Linked DNA regions of Homo sapiens: regions 2 and 3 are each linked to region 1. The links are contacts of gene promoters, found by promoter capture Hi-C in human tissues and cell types (Jung and others, 2019). All regions are on one chromosome and are shown on one strand. The core of a region is centred on a gene start or on the middle of the fragment in contact, and the rest is flanking DNA. Distances in the headings are between cores, read along the strand shown.

Region 1 (3,460 bases), core at 565-3,064:
TGCCCTCTCCCCAGTTCCCAAACTGACCTCTTCCAGGCCTATTAGGGCCGCTTCTTCCAGGAAGCCACCTATGTGATTATTTCCCTCCCCCTCCTTCCTTCCCATGGCCTCCTTTCCCCAGCCAGGCTGTTAGCTTTTTGCATTTTATCTTTCATTTTGCATCTTTCTCTATCTCCCTTTCTCACTAGATGGGGATTTATTATAACAGCAACCAATTTTCCTGTGCTGGAAAATGAGGAAAGCAGTGTAGCTGTGAGAAATAGTAAAAGTGTTTCAGGTCTGTCAAGAAAACAAAACCAAATCACACCATTTCCCCTTCATTTCATCTTTGTTAAATGAATACCTAAGCCAACGGTGTGCAAAGCGAAGGGCTGAATGCTTTAGTTTTCCAGTCCTCACACTAAACATTAAACTCATCTGACGGGATTCACAACATCTCTTTAATAATTAATGGTACGCGCTCAGGACAAAATCCTCTATGATGCATAAATACTTGCTAGTACCGGCACCTCCTGGTTGTTTTGGAAGTTTGGAGAGGATGGTGGATGGACACCCCCTCTTTTTGAAAACATTTTTTCTTCATCTGTCATTTGAATTACCAAAGCATTACAAGTGTATCATTAAACATTTAAACATTAGAGAAATATACAGAATGAGGGAAGTTAAAGTCCCCGGAATCTGAGCCCTCAGGGATGACCACTATTGAGTTTGTGTGGCATTTTCCTCCTTTTTTTTTTTTTTTTTGAGACGGAGTTTCACTCTTGTTGCCCAGGCTGGAGTACAGTGGTGCGAGCTCGGTTCACTGCAACCTCCGCCTCCCAAGTTCAAGCGATTCTCCTGCCTCAGCCTCCCAAGTAGCTGTGATTACAGGCATGCGCCACCACACCTGGCTAATTTTGTATTTTTAGTAGAGATGGGGTTTCTCCATGTTGGTCAGGCTGGTCTCGAACTTCCAACCTCAGGTGGTCCACCCACCTTGGCCTCCCAAAGTGCTGGGATTACAGGCATGAGCCACCGCGCCTGGCCTTTTCTCCACTTTTTTTTTCCTAAATGTATGTTATTTTATGTTATTCATTTTCCAATAGGGGATCACACAGTAACAGTGTTCTCATAATTTGATTTTTCTAGCAGAGTTCCGCACACTGTTGAGAGCCCATGTGTTACCTTGATTGAAAACTAGCCACAGAGCAAGACTCTACCTTTAAAAAAAAAAAAGAGGGGGGGCACGGTGGCTCATGCCTGCACTCCCAGCACTTTGGGAGGCCAAGGTGGGCAGATCACTTGAAGCCAGGAGTTCGAGACCAGCCTGGCCAACATGGTGAAACCCCGTCTCTACTAAAAATACAAAAATTAGCCAGGCATGGTGGCAGGTGCCTGTAGTCCCAGCTACTCGGGAGGCTGAGGCAGGAGAATTGCTTGAACCCGAGAGGTGGAGGCTGCAGTGAGCAGAGATCACACCACTGCACTCCAGCCTCGGCAACAGAGCGAGACTCTACCTCAAAAACAGAAAAGAAACAAAAACTAAATGCCTCTGAGCAGCACTACTGTCTCCATGGGTGGCCACCACAGGGATGGGCCTGGAGCTGTCCTCGAAGGGGTCTTCGCCAAGCCCTAGTGAAGAAAAAAAGGACGCTACCTGCTTTTCCACTTTGCCCTGTGCTACCCCCTTCCCCTCCTTTCTTCAGTCCCGCCTTCCCTCCTCTCCTACTGTCCTTTTCTCTCACCCTTGTTTCTGTCAGCATCCAGAGGGAAGCCAGGAACACAACACATCCAGCAGCAACCATGCAGTGCAGCTTATAACCTTCACATCGTTGTGGGCCCTAATCTCTACAACAAGGATTTAATGGGCTGTGTGTCTTGGGGTGGACCTTGAGCTTGGAGCCCAAAGGTCTCCACTCCTGACTGCCAAAGTTAACTTGCTGCCTCATCTGGTGGTGGGTAATAGAGCACATGAGGAGTCAGCGTGCTCCTGCTTAGGAAGTACCTGGCAGGGAGTCAAGCGGCATCAGGCTGGCAGGTGTCATTGCTGTCACAGGTCCCATCCGGGGTGTCCTGACACACTGCTCCCCTCCTCCAGGCCAGGAGACTCCGGGCTTCTCCCCTGCTCCTCCTCTCAAGGAGGCATGGCCAGCAGGGATCCCAGACCCCAGAAGCCAAGCGGTCTTTTCAGGTGGAATGTGGCAAAAAGCCACAGGCTGGGGAGTTGGGAGGCTGGATAGATTGGGGTGGAGACCCCAGGGAAAGACCAACAGCTGGAGGACCTCAGGTGTCCCGGCTGTGCCCCTCCAGCTGTGGGACCTCAGCATGTCCTTGGGCTTCTTGGTGGCCTGTTTCCTAAGGAGACAGCCTCTGAGGCCCGGCACACCCGCAGACGCCCGCTGAGTGAGACCTAGAGCTGAGCCAGGCCAGGGCAGAGTGGGGAGAGGACCACATAAATATACATAGATAATTTCCCTCACCATCCAGCAGAGCTCAGAAGGGTTGACAGTAAAGGGGCTGCTCCACCCCTCCAACTCTATCCCATTCCTCAGAGGCAACCACCTAACTTTTCTGGTTTTAGTTCTTCTGCAGGCCACCTCCTGTTTTAGGGAATTATTAGTCAAAGAGTTGGAGAGGATCCCTTCTCGCCAGGCTCTGACATAATAGGTTATTTTATAAGTAGTGAGTGAAACATTCAAAAAGCACAAGAACTGTCAGAAGAGTTGCTCAGCAATCTCTTTATTTTCTTCTCATGATTCTGCCCACACTCATTTCTTAGCTCTTCACAGGCGAGGTCTCTTTCATTGCATCGATTCGTGTATCCAAGCACTGGACAAATAAAGAGGCTTATCACTCGTCAAGTTCCATGAACATGACCTCATCATTCTTCTCTCCTAAACCTGGGATGATTGGCAGAAAGGGCATCCATACAACTTTTTCTTCTGCATTTGGCATTGAAAAATGGACTTCCCGTAGTCTGTAGTAGAAATATTGGAAAGTAGCAATAATCCTAGCACTTTGGGAGGCCAAGGCAGGTAGATCGCTTGAGCCCAGGACTTCAAGACCAGCCTGGGCAACACAGGGAGACCCTGTCTCTACAAAAAATAGAAAAAATTAGACAGGTGTGGTGGCGTGCACCTGTAATCCCAGCTACTCAGGAGGCTGAGGTGGGAGGATCATTTAAGCCTGGGAAGTCAAGGCTGCAGTGAACCATAATCACACCACTGCACTCCAGCCTGGGCGACAGGAGTGAGACCCTGTAAAAAAAAAAATTGATGACATAGAGCTAAATACAAAGACTAAAGAAATATCTTGGGCTTTTATACTCTTTGCTTGTGACTCTTCTAGTTTTCCTGTGGGAACGGACTAGCCCAAGTGTTAGAGCACACTGCTCTCCCGGCAACTACAGAGCTAGTTCAGCTGGTCCCAGGGGAAGAAAGCATTCCAGTACCCCAAAGGCTGGAAGCCCCCAGCCTGCTTG
Region 2 (3,342 bases), core at 198-2,697, 140 kb after region 1:
CGAGCCACCGCGCCCGGCCACGACTATTAATTATTAGACTTTCCCAATGGCTAAGAACTAAAACATGGTATCTTTCTGGCTTACCAATGTACTCCCAACACCTAGCTCAGTGCCTGGCACAGAGTAAGTGCTCAGTAAAAATTTATTTAATGAATCAAAGCCACAACTAGTTGAAAAATTGGAAAATGATCAAAATGGACGCACTAGCACCACACTTCTGCCCCTTTCACTGTGTAACGTAACAGTGAGGTTGAGGAAACAGACTACTAAAATACCACCAAGCATCCACCAGGCCAGGAATCTGTCTGTCCACATCCTCCGCACTCTGCCACACTGTGCACCACACTGCACCCGCGACAGAAGCACCCTACAGGCCCTCCATGAGCACAGGCCTGAACTCAAGTGGGCAAACCATAAGCCAAATACCGTCTTACTCCCCAAGTCCCATTCTTCTACTGCCAGTCCTATTCTAGACTAGTCCTGGATGCCAAACATGCTTCCCTGGGTGGGCCTGTGGACTTATTCCAATCCAGGACCTTTAATGCCACCTTTGGCCTACTCAAAAAATGGTTTAAAATCCCTAAACAGCTTCAATAATCCTGCAGTACTCAGGAGCAGGCATACCTAAGGTCATACGGACCCCTCCCCCTCACAAACGCTGATCCAAGGCCAGGAGGCCATCTGTCCAGCAGACGCTCTCCTGTCCTCCCTCAGGTCACACTGAGCCTCCCGCCAACCCCCTCGTTGGCAGGAAGAGCCCTTGCAGAGAGACAATTTTCACCCTGATCAACAGGCCTGGTCACCCCTGAGGACCCCAACTCTGGAGCTCTAGGAATACCTGTCTGCTCCGGGAGAAACCTTCCTCAGGGTCAGAACTTGGGCTCAGGGGAGGGGAGTACTGAGGAGCGCCAAAGAGGGTCGTTCCCCGAAGTGTCTGCCCTGTGACGGCGACAGCTCTTCGGGCGGCGGGGACGGTCGGGCTGACAGGCCGTCCCAGAGGGAGAAAGTGGCACCGTTATCCGTGCCCGGGCTGGGGGCCGCCGGCTATCGCCGAGGGCGGCCGCACGTCCCGCCCAGCGCGGAGGACAGCAGCGTGCCCGGCCTGCCAAGGAGCGGCGGTCGCAGCGGCGGTCGCAGCGGCGGAAGGGGCCGGCGCCCGACGGCCGGGGGCGGGGTGGGGTGGCGGCCCGGGCCCGCCAGGCGGCGGTCGGGGGAAGTGGCTGCCGCCTCTGGCGGCGGCCAGGGTCCGCCAGGCTGCAGGGCCGGGCCCCGGCTCGGGCTCGGACTCGGTCCCGGCTGCGATCCTCCCGGGCCCAGGCTGGGGCTGCCCCGGCCCGCAGGCCCCGCTCGGCCCGGCCCGCGGGGGGCGCTTACCTGGCGGCGGCGGCGGCGACTGCAGGCCAGAGTCTCGGCCGCGCGCGTCCCCAGCGCCGGCTGCGGGAGCCACAACATGGCGACGGCGATGGCGGGCGGGGCTGCGGCTCCGGGGGCGGAGCGGGGGCGGGAGCCGGCCTGGCGGCGGGACCTGGCTGGGGCTGCCGCGGCGGGGGATTGGGGGGGGGGGGGGGCAGGCGGAAGGCGACTCGGACCTGGGCACCGGCCCAGGACGGTGCGGTGGAGGGGCTGCCCCGGCCTGGGCCCGGCCTCCCGCCTCCCGCCTCCCGCCCGAGGCGGGCTGCGCGGCGCAGGCCCGGCGACGGCGACGACGGCGGCGGCGGGTAGGGCGGGGCGGGACGCGACGGGACGGGGCGGGGCGGGGACGGCGCCGCTCAGGGCTGGACCCCCGACCCCGGCCGGCCCCCGCCCGGCTCCAGTCCCCGCCACCCGTGCTAGGCACCCTGTGCGGTCGGGCAGGCAGCCGCTGCCAGCGACCTGGGCCTCTTGTCCTCTGACGCGCCTCGGGGCAGGGGCAGGGGCCGAGGCCGCCCACTAGAGGAACAGGATCTGCCTACGCAGCTGTCTCGCCCGGCAAAGAGCGCCCAGGACCCGGGACTGCGTCCTCTTCACTGAGACCTGGCGCATAGGGGGCCTAGTCGAGGCTGTTAAGTGAAAGCAAGCAGGGGTGGCGTGGGCCTGGCGCTCAGGTGCGCCCTAAATGTTTGGTCATAGCTGGCTACAAGGACATTCGCGCAGGCTTGGAGGTGCGGGGCAGCCTGACGTGTTGCCTCTGGGGTAACCGAGGGACGCGCGGCAAACAGAGATGGAGGACTGGCAACGGGTGCCTCGAAGAGGTAGACTGGGAGATCTCTCAGGGTTACTGGGGAAACGATGACTGTGCAGGGTGAGAACTCAGTGAGTCTGGCAGAAGGCTGGGAGGGTGACCGGCAGGACCTTCCAAGAACCCGGCGTACCTGGAAACTGGGTCCGCAGCATTAGGGCGGCAGCAAGGTCAGGGTGTGGGAACACGGAGATGAGGCCCTGGTGACTAGGAGTGAGCACACACTGCTAACCATGGAGAAATTCCTTCTCCAGGAAGGAGATGCAAATGTGCAAGATGGCTGGAACTAACATGCAGCCGGAGCCTGCTGTGCACCAGGCACAGAACTGAGTTGAAGAGCTTGTCTAAAGAGTATGTTAGCCAATGAAGCAATGGAGTTAATAAAGGGTGATGATTTCAAATGTTTGGCAGTGAGAGAGAGAAAAGTAGGCCTGGAGCTCAAGAAGTACCAAGAGTAAAGGAGAAAGTTGGGTCCTACTGTGGAAGCTGAGGCAAAAGCATCCCTTAAGCCGAGAAGTTTGAGTTCAGCCTGGGCAACATAGCGAGACCCTCCCTCTCTGCAAAAGAGTAAAGGGAAAAGTTGATTGTTTTTTGTTTTTTTTTTTTGTCTTTGGAGACGGAGTTTCGGTCTCGCAGCCCAGGCTGTAGTGCAATTGCGTGGTCTCGGCTCACTGCAACCTCTACCTCCAGAGTTCCAGTGATAATCCAGCCTCAGCCTTCAAAGTAGCTGGAATTACAGGCGCACGCCACCATGCCTGGCTTTTTTTTTTTTTTTTTTTTTTTTTTTTTTTGAGAGAGAGTTTCGCTCTTGTTGCCCAGGCTGCAGTGCAATGGCACAATCTCGGCTCACTGCAACCTCTGCCTCCTGGGTTCAACCGATTCTCCTGCCTCAGCCTCCCGAGTAGCTGGGATTACAGGCATGCGCCACCATGCCTGACTAATTTTGTATTTTTAGTGGAAATGGGGTTTCAACATGTTGGTCAGGCTGGTCTCAAACTCCTGAACTCAGGTCATCCACCCGCCTCGGCCTCCGAAAGTGCTGGGATTACATGCATGAGCCACCGCACCCGGCCCTAATTTTTGTATTTTTAGTAGAGATGGGGGTTCGCCATGTTGGCCAGGCT
Region 3 (3,079 bases), core at 7-2,506, 160 kb before region 1:
TGGGGCACAGTTTCGTAAGAGAAAGCAGAAAAAGCATAAACTGGAGGGATGCTGCTACTGCCACAATAAAGCAGGGTCAGAGAGCCACCTGGGTCCTTTATATGAATTGGTGTCTCAGTCTCTGACAGAATACTCATGAAATTTACTAAGAAGGATCAAATAGATAAAAAATAAAGTCTGAATGGAAAGAAAGAAAATATTTATAAATATTAGAAAAACATGATATACTAGGTTACCAGAAAAAAACCCTTAAAATATATTCCTAAAGTAAAAACTGTACAGTTTTTATCCTTCAACGAAGCAAACTAGGAATTAAAAACTTAAGTTTAAGCGACAACAAAAAATCCTGCCTCCTTAGAAAACTTAAAAATATTAACTCACAAAAGTAATGAATCAAAGAGAGATATGCAAACTATGCCTACAGTTAACTTGGAAAATAAAAGTGAATATTATGTAGTAAGACTTACAGGATACTACTGCTAAATTATAATGAGAGGCAAAATCTATAGTCTAAAACCTTTTTGTCACAAAATAAGTACACTAAGCTTTCAAATCATTAAGTTTGAGAAAATCAACAGTACAAACTTAAGGAAACCGGTAAGGAAAATAAATATAAAGACAATAATGAATTGTTTAAATATTAATGACCAGCATGAGTAAAAAGTATGTATATACATATTTACATAGTGTTGGTCACAAGCTGAGGGAAAAGATAAAAGTCTGGATAGCTCAGGGCAAAAGGCTCATCCCTCCTAGGTAAACAATCCTGAATATGTGGTCTACACCAAAAGCTGGTGAAATAACTTGATTTGTACAGACAAAGGACAGCATAAATTTATGATGTGAACTTATAAAAGTAACTCACCTTTGGATTTATTTTAAGAAATAAAGGCAGCTATGGGTTCACTTTTAAAAGATTTAAGACTATGAATTTTGCCACGTAAAAATTTTAGCAATATCATTTTAAAACATTCATGTTTCAGCAATTCCTTTTTACCACTGAACGCTTACTTTATTTACTTAACTAGATTGCATTTAACCTTACATCCTGTCTACGGGGTATATCCGGCTCTCAGGACCTCTATGGAGCAGAGTCTCCTAACAGCCGGACAACTACTTGCCACTGCTCCCCCCAAAATAACCACCACCAGGAAATCTGATGACATTACTCAGTGAGCAGACGTCAGCAGTGGGCCCTCAAAGAGTAAACAACTTCCTGACTGCTCTAGAAAAGAGGACTGGAACTTCTGGAATTCTTGTATCCATCCTTTCTTTATGTATGGAAATCATAATCAAACTGACCTAAGGTTTCAGGTCACAGCCCTCTTAATAATAATTTATTTTTCACATTAATATTTACAAGGGAATAATCATTTCAAATAAATTTAAATAGCATAGCTTTGATTTTATCTTTCAGCTTTAAAAGCAACTGACATTTTTAAGCAATATAGAAACAAAAGTATGTTCAATAGCTGATATCAGTAATTATACACGTTCTTAATCTTTTATACTTTTAAATATTTGTGAATGTATTAAGATTATTTAAAAAGGTTATAATATTAGGATATCAGACAATATGATGGTGTTGATTTGCATTTTAATATTGAAAAGTAAAACTTTTTGTAAATATGGTTTACAGATATATGAAACAAATTATTAGAAGTTTTGATTTCGTTTGCCTAACTGATCTAACATCATTTAGATGTGGTATTAGAAGGCAAAGTTATTATGTTACAAATCTTGATTAGGGGTGGGTGAGAAAGAAAATAGATATATAATTCCAACCTCTGTAAAATTTCTACTCCCCTCTACCCTCCCTATCCCTTGCCTGCTTTGTTTTTATTTCTTAGCTCCCAATCACCATTTGGTATACTACATATTTTATTATCTATCTTCTTTTTTGTCTGTTTCTCCCACTGGAATACAGAGTTCTATAACAACAGGGATTTACCTGCTTTATTCATTACTATATTCCCAACACCCAAAACAGTGTCTAGTACATGGTATTCAAAAAATATTTTGGAATTAATGTGCAGTCAACAGCTAATCTTTTTAAACCAATCATTTATCTAGAAATTATACTCATACCAGCTTATTACATAAATATATGTATGTAATACAGGACTTGTAGTTTTCAGAGTAATTTCATAGGTACTTTATTCCATTAAGAAACAGAAAGAATGGCTGGGCGTGGTGCCTCACGCCTGTAATCCCAGCACTTTGGGAGGCCGAGGCGGGCAGATCACCTGAGGTCAGGAGCTCAAGACCAGCCTAGCCAACATAGTAAAACCCTGTCTCTACTAAAAATACAAAAATTAGCCAGGTGTGGTGGGTGCCTGTAATCCCAGCTACTCAGGAGGGATTGAACCTGGGAGGCAGAGATTGCACTGAGCTGAGACAGAGCCACTGTACTCCAGCCTGGGTGACAGGGCGAGACTCTGTCTTAAAAAAAAAAAAAAAAAAAAGAAACAGAAAGAAGAATCTTACGAAGAGCCTAAGTCCTAGGAACTACAAAACAATCATATGATCGATCTCTTTTTTTCCTTCATCCTTTTATTAGAAACAGAAAGTTATCCTGGGGTCAATTTACATTAATTGTATACAAAACCCAGGAACTGCAGTAAAGACATAAATCCAATTTTGGTCTGAACCATACTATCCCTTCAGGCTTTCCATGTACAACCAGTGACCATCTGTTTCTCTCTCTGGACAAAGAGAAATAATGTGATCAAAGGGACACAGCCTGGAAAGAGTCAGGAGATACCAGTTCTTAGGTGTGGAAGAGTCTAAATCCAGACACTTGTGGACCACCTATTACTGTAAGACAAGTGCAGTGCTAGATACTAGGAGTACAAAGAACCTAATCCTGTCCCTTGGGTAGCAGGAGAGGAAAATGCAAATAACAACATGGTCCAGTCAGTTTTAATAGAAAAAAGTATCTAACACGTAAATACTTTGGATCCAATCATATTTAAGTCCAATTTAGTTCTTACCTTATGAGCAAGGTAAGCTCATTAACTCCATTTTATTGATGAAGAAGCTGACACTCAGAGAAGTATGGTCAAATAGTTGGTAAGCA

The links. Contacts are between HindIII fragments. The study calls those that stand out against the background at their distance.
Region 2: the fragment with the promoter of ZNF592 here is called in contact with the fragment with the promoter of SLC28A1 in region 1 in 1 of the 25 tissues and cell types used here (mesenchymal stem cells).
Region 3: a fragment that was not itself captured here is called in contact with the fragment with the promoter of SLC28A1 in region 1 in 5 of the 25 tissues and cell types used here (aorta, dorsolateral prefrontal cortex, liver and 2 more).

The regions. Positions count from the first base shown.
Region 1 is chr15:84,883,016-84,886,475 of GRCh38, reverse strand. SLC28A1 (solute carrier family 28 member 1) reads right to left here and starts at 1,814. Exons shown (of 19, transcript NM_004213.5): 1 at 1,725-1,814. RefSeq lists enhancers at 1,734-2,234, 2,235-2,735. The HindIII fragment of the contact is 24,351 bases long and covers 1-3,460 here.
Region 2 is chr15:84,746,697-84,750,038 of GRCh38, reverse strand. It overlaps ZNF592 (zinc finger protein 592), which reads right to left and starts at 1,447. Exons shown (of 11, transcript NM_014630.3): 1 at 1,375-1,447. RefSeq lists enhancers at 476-555, 1,084-1,923, 1,996-2,295 and silencers at 956-1,445, 1,506-1,925. The HindIII fragment of the contact is 21,328 bases long and covers 1-3,342 here.
Region 3 is chr15:85,045,452-85,048,530 of GRCh38, reverse strand. All of the region lies in intron 1 of PDE8A (phosphodiesterase 8A), which reads right to left. Among named protein-coding and RNA genes, the nearest start is that of PDE8A, 65 kb to the right of the region's middle. RefSeq lists an enhancer at 1,177-1,346. The HindIII fragment of the contact is 7,626 bases long and covers 1-3,079 here.